Linked DNA regions of Homo sapiens: region 1 is linked to region 2. Evidence: promoter capture Hi-C in 16 types of primary human blood cells and fetal thymus (Javierre and others, 2016). All regions are on one chromosome and are shown on one strand. The core of a region is centred on a gene start or on the middle of the fragment in contact, and the rest is flanking DNA. Distances in the headings are between cores, read along the strand shown. Region 1 overlaps OVCH2 (ovochymase 2). Region 2 holds the start of OR2AG2 (olfactory receptor family 2 subfamily AG member 2).

Region 1 (3,213 bases), core at 24-2,523, 920 kb after region 2:
TCATAGTTTCTATAATTGTGATGCTTATTGGCAGCATAATATTTCATTTATCTCTATCCTTGAGACCTGTATTTTTTGCTATCTTAAAAACTTGGCAGTGAATATCTTTAGGCATTTACTTTTTTTCTTCTCTTGTATCATTCCCTGCATGGGGCACTTGTTTTGTTTCAGGAAAAGGGAGGGGAACTATCTAGATAGAAGGAACAGTGTGAAGGAGAAACAAAGAAACAATAAAGAGTGATCTTGGAGCAGTTTGGTGAGCACTAGCCAATTGAATTTGAAGTGAAGAGTGGTGGGAGAGAGGGCTGATGAAATAGGAACTCTAATTTTAACACACAGTTGATGGGGATTCAATGGGACCCAGACTCTGAGCAAGAAACAGAAAGGATTGTGTGGATAAAACAAAACTGGAGGCAAATAATTACTAATGGTAAAGGTAGGCGTGGGGAGGGGGACCTGTATCAGAAATAGGATTCATTCAAACATTTATTAAACCCTTACTGGGATACTTTCTGGGAAGGGGCCCTTTTCTCTCCAAGTCAAATGGTGAGCATATTCCTATGACTTTTAACACCAGTTTCCAAATTACTATCTTACACGAGTTCTGCAAAATGATGCTGTCACTGGCAGAGTATGAGAGCATCGCTTCACTGATGCACGACACTCAAACTTTACTTATTGAAGAGATATTTTTCAATCACTTCTGGCTCTGGCATTTTCAGATTTTCAACTAAATTTCCTCTTCTTCCTCCACCTGGAAACATGCTCACAACCTAAATTTTATCCTCCACCACTAACAAATTTTCCTTAATTCTGCTGAAATTTTTGCCCCAAATCTGTTTAGGTTTGATGAACTTTTAGAAAGAAATCTATACCAACTGCCTCTGTATCATCTTTTCCCACTCATTCATAAAACCTGTGTGATCTTGTTTCTGCCATTAACATCTGACTTCACGTGATATTTCAGATACCACCAATCCCAACTCCTCTCAATTGTTCAATTTCCCATCTAATTATTCTCCCTTTTTTATGGAGGTGTGGGGTGGGGACTGGACACCTCAGTTCTCATCTCTTTAAGTTCTAACTTAGTGTGGTATCCAAATGATTGGTCACATCTTTTTCTTTGGTTTTGTTTGTGTTTTAAGTTAAAGGCTGCATTCTCCAGGCTGTCATAAAAACACACCAATTTGGTTCTCCTCCCACATCTCAGAGTTCTTTCCATCTCTTAAGTGAGAACGCTGGTGTCTCATCATCCCTCACTCCTCTCCCCTTTATTTTCTGCTCTCTTTTCTCTCCATCGTACACTGTCTTGTTTTCAATTATTATTTTAAAAGAAAGATCTATGAGAAAATGCCTCATTCCAATCTCACCCTGACTGCAGTCCTACTTCTACCTCCCTGATGATATCTCTCTGCAGATGGTCCATTAGTGTTTAATGAACAAACAACTAACCACACACTGCTAATCAAATGTGGAATAAACTCCATTTCCAGGCGTTCAAAGGCCTCCATACAGTGACTTCCACCTTGCCTTCCACTGTCCACTCCAGGACACCTTAAGACCCTCTTAAACCAGCGATTCCCTGAGCCTGTTCTGCGCTGGTTCCTCTAGGCTTGCTCTGTCCTCTCTGCTTGAAAGGCTTGATGATTTTGGCCTGATTGACCTTGATTTTGTTATCTATAACTTACAATGTGTTTTGTGAGCAGTTTAATAAATAAGGAAGACATGCTTGTTTCTGGAATGGACTAAAAGTCACCAACACAAAGTTTTTGTTTTGTTTTGTTTTGTTTTGTGTTTTGAGAGTTTCGCTCTTGTAGCCCAGGCTGGAGTGCAGTGGCGCGATCTCGGCTCATTGCAACCTCCATCTCCCGGGTTCAAGCAATTCTCCAGCCTCCCGAGTAGCTGGGATTACAGGCGCCCGCCACCGCGCCCGGCTAATTCAATACAAAGATTAAAGCGGCACTTTTTTTTTTTTTTTTTTTTTTTAAAGTAAGGAGCACAGTGCCATCTAGTGGAAAAAATGTGTAGTTGCAGGGGAAACTGGGCGGATCCATTATTCAGCAAGTATTTATTGACAGCTTTGTGTGTCAGGTGCTGGGTTCTAGGTACTGAAAACACAGCAGTGAATAAATCAGATAAAACCTCTGACCTCATGGTGCTTATGTTAGCTATTCTGTGAATTTACCATAGCTACGTAAGGACAGCCAAAGTCAATACCTTAATTAGGTGATGTTTGGAGGCTTGAAAAATCCAGTCACAGTTAGCCTTGTCACTGTAGTTTTCAGGATAGTTTAGACTCTGTATGAGACCTTCTTCAAAAAGGACAGTTAAGTAACTGCAACCTGAATCTGAAACGTAAGAAAAAGTCCAAACAGATGGCACCATTCAAATAAAGAAGAATTCTCACTGCTCTCCCTCCTGTCTCCTGAAAATGATGCATATCAATTGCATTTTCAGACACTGCGAACAAGAAAAGACGTAGTGCATGATTCTCCAGAACTCATCAGGCCCTCTCGACTCACTTGGAGGGGCAATCACTACGAGCTAGCAGGGTGAACTCAGGGTTGAGGGGGAGACTGCCCCCTGTTCTCTAGTTGGCCTGTGCCCCTCTCCCATGTGGAGTCAGTTGGGCCTTGGGAGAGGGATCCCTGCCACTCACCTAATTCCTATGGGGCCTAAGCTTCTACAGAAGGTGGAGATAGTATGTGATTAAAAGTAAATGGTTTTACCAGGAATGTAGTTTGGTTTAAGAGCTTTATAGGTAAGATTAAACCCAGCTGCATTATCTGTGGCATCAGAGACGAATTTCAGCCTTAGAGAATTAGAGCCAATAAGAATGGATGAAGGGAGGCTTTCTCCACAAAATTTTCCTGCAGGATGAGAAAAAAGGATTCTTTGTTCAGAATCTAGAAAATAGTTCCCATTCAATGATTTAAGAAGAACTGAATTTGCCATGATATTTCAGGATTGTCCAATCCAAAGTTTCTCAGTCTTGTCACAATTGACATTTTGAGCCAGAACCTTCTTTGTGTTCTTGCCATCCTGCATCTTTTGTAGGATATTTGGTAGCATTTCTGGCCTCTACCAGTGACAATTCCTGCCCTTGTGACAACTGAAAAATGCTTCTCATTCATTGCCAAATGTGTCCTGAGGGTTGGGGGTACAAAATCACCTCCAGCTGAGAAACCACAGAAACACCATTCCATTTCTGTT
Region 2 (3,115 bases), core at 375-2,874:
GCTGAGGATAAATAGGAGGTGGCTAAATCAAAATGGGTCAGGATATAATTAAAAAAAAAAAAGTGAGGGATGGTACCGTGAAAGTCAGAACCTTAAAATACAGTACATGAATGTCCTCCTTGCACTTTTGCCCAGTGAAGTCTGGACAAGAAACCCCCAGAAAAATACCCTGTATAAAACTGTGTTTCACCACGCAATGTAGTCTAAGAATTTTCTCCTGCCTTACAAAATCAAAACTATAATTTTAACCTAGGAACCACTGACCCACTGACCGGAAAACCTTATTTGTCTGTTGACAACAAAAACACAAGTCCAAAGTCAATTCTAAGCACTATTTCTGCTAAATATTAGATTTGAAATGCCTTCATTTTTCTTGAATAAAAAGATGAATGGACAGGTAAATAAAAGGAGGAACATAATTAGCTGGGCACATTCTTCTAGCTTCCTGCACCAGATGTTTGGACAGGATTTCAAAGAGAAGAAAAATCAGGGCTTGGGTAAGGTGGTGTAACCAGGACTCAGGATCCTACATACCTACCTCCTCCCTCTGATACGGGACTATTGTTTTCCCTTCTTTCCATTTACTGAGTTCTCTCTGGGGTCATCTAAAGGGAAAGGCCAGAGAACACACACTGGGCCTACAGAGGAAGAGCTTCATTCTGGAAAACTGCTGGTGGTTGCGGGTATTTCAAACCAAGAGAAGTCAGCAGAGGCTGATATTAAGAGGCATTGCTATAGTTTATGGAAAATGGTCAGTCAATTAACAAGGTAGAGCTAAATTTTTGGAAGTATATTTTATAAGTTTTTCTTTTTCATCTCTGCTCAGTATATTTATTTTTTGTATTTACTTCATTTGGCTTTTTGTGTGGCACTGGACTTAGCGCCAAGCAGTCCTGCAGGGGAAAGGCACTTCAGCATATTTTAGATAGTCCTCCTTTGAGGTACTATTCATTTGGGGACTCACATCAAACTACTGGAGGCCAGGAAAATCTAGATGTAACAAAGGTAAGTACTGAGACTTTTACCAGGAGGCCATCATCAGGAATTCTAGGAACTCACGGCTGGCCAATGGCATAGAATTATTTTGGTTGTTCCTACATGTGCAAGATGGGTACATGTACAAGGTTGATAAGATATAGATGGGAGTGAGTGAATCATAAAGCCTGAGGAACTAGAGAATCTGAGAAGGAGAGCAGTGTAAGGTCTTGACCCTGTTTCTCAGGACTTCCAGACTTCCCATATTGCCTTGAAACGGAGACAGAGCCCTTACCTCATATGGGAAGGGGCATAGCTTCCAGGTAAAGAGGTTCAAGAAGCCAAAGAAAGAAAAGTTGCTTCTTCTGGCCAGGATGAATGTAGGTGTGTGTATGGCTGTCTCTAGGATCAGAGATCAAAGGCTCCTCCAGTCACTGGCACTGCAAGTCCTCTCTGGAAGTAGAGATAGATGCAGACAGGCAGCTGAGAACCTAGGGCAGGATCCTGCAGAAGTGAGGAGCTGAATCTCTTCCAAAGTTCTCTCATTCACTGTCCTTGCGAGAAAGTCCTTACTGCTTTGGAATGGTTCTAGCTGAGTTCTTAAGTCCAGGTCCTCAGATTTCATATATTCCCCTCATGCTGTGTTTCATGATAAAAGAGGAGCACAGCAGGAATGTGAGAAAAGAGGTATAAGAAGAGCTGCTTAAAAGAGACCCACCAATGCCCAGCCTTACTGTCTCTGCGCCAACAGTGAGGCCTGTCCTGGGGGAGGGTTCATAGTCTCACCCTCTCAGCTGACATGACCTCCCCTGAAAATATTGCTCCAGGAAATGGGATTTTAATAAATCCCCTTGGGCATGTCTCCTGGCCTGCCATTTCTTCAAACTTTACCACCAAATGAGCTCTGAACCTTGAGGCCTTGTTCTGCCCGCCATGGGCTTGCTGTGTCTCACCACTCATTGGAGTCTAAGATCTTTCTCCTGCCTTACAAAACCAAAACTATAATTTTAACCTAGAAATCACTGACCGGAAAACCAGACAGAGGCTGTTTCTGACAAAATAGATAGTGTCAGTAACCAATCTGAAAAGCAACACCTCCCTGTCCAGCCCTCTGTCCAAAATATAAAGTCTGTCTCATGGGTTCTATAGATGCTGCCACTCACATATCCCTCTTTGTGCCACTAGCCTGGGCTATTACCAACTAGAGGGAGTTAACTATGCTTCTGTTAATATCAGGTCTTCCTTCACTGAGCTTTAATGAGGATCCAGCACTAATTTATTTTTCAGTTCTTTGTTTCTCCTTTCTACTCCCTCTTGTGTGTGTTCATTTGTTCATGGGCCTACATATTCTGTGATCAGTCAGCTGAGCTGCTCAGAGCTTTGGGATGATGACACAGCACCTGCTTGCACTCACTTCTGCTTTTAGTTCAGGCTTTCCCATCTCTCACCCAATTCTGTGCTTAATCTTCCTCATTCTTTAGTATCTCTTTAATCAGCCATTTCACCAGGAAATGCTGAAAATTTCTTCCGGAGTTATCATATCTTTTCTCTTTGAACTTAAAAAAAATAAAAATAAGTTTCCACTTTCTGTTTATATAAAATATATACTCAAAATTATTTCAGAAGTGCAACAGAAGAACTAATATAAAAATCTTTTTATTTTTTAATTATAAAAGGAATGTACTGAAAAGACGGTTTTAAACATGTAAATTATAAGAGCAGCATTATTCACAGTACAATAAAAATTAGAAACGACCTTTATGCCCATCAACAGTGGAATAGATAGATATGCACCAAAGGGTTACTATGTAGGAATCTAAACAAAGGAACCAGAGCATACAACAAAAAAAGCAACTTAGGAAACTAATATTAAGGGAAGCAAGAGACACCTTAGGATTATATATCGTGGTACTTCTTTTGCAGTGTTAAGAACTTAAGTGAAAATAAACTTCCTATAAATATGTGTACATTCAATAAAACTACATATAAATGAAGAAAGAAAATGATGGACATGAAATTTGCGTTAATAGTTATAGTGAAAGGAGGCAGAGAGCTGGACTGCTAAATGTGGTCGAGTCCAAATCTTCTACTACTTGCCACACGACAGCCAATAAGTGGAGAGAAAAGGTGTTGGGGCAAG

Evidence for each region. Contacts are between HindIII fragments. The CHiCAGO score rates a contact against its expected background, and 5 or more counts as called.
Region 1: a contact is called between a fragment that was not itself captured here and the fragment with the promoter of OR2AG2 in region 2, in 1 of 17 cell types (M0 macrophages). The highest score is 5.6, in M0 macrophages.

What each region holds. Positions count from the first base shown.
Region 1 is chr11:7,692,841-7,696,053 of GRCh38, forward strand. It overlaps OVCH2 (ovochymase 2), which reads right to left. Exons shown (of 16, transcript NM_198185.7): 11 at 2,730-2,870; 12 at 2,218-2,348. All of the region lies in intron 4 of LOC105376533 (a long non-coding RNA gene), which reads left to right. Among named protein-coding and RNA genes, the nearest start is that of OVCH2, 12 kb to the right of the region's middle. The HindIII fragment of the contact is 2,809 bases long and covers 1-2,678 here.
Region 2 is chr11:6,770,352-6,773,466 of GRCh38, forward strand. OR2AG2 (olfactory receptor family 2 subfamily AG member 2) reads right to left here and starts at 1,625. Exons shown (of 2, transcript NM_001004490.2): 1 at 1,271-1,625. The HindIII fragment of the contact is 9,473 bases long and covers 1-3,115 here.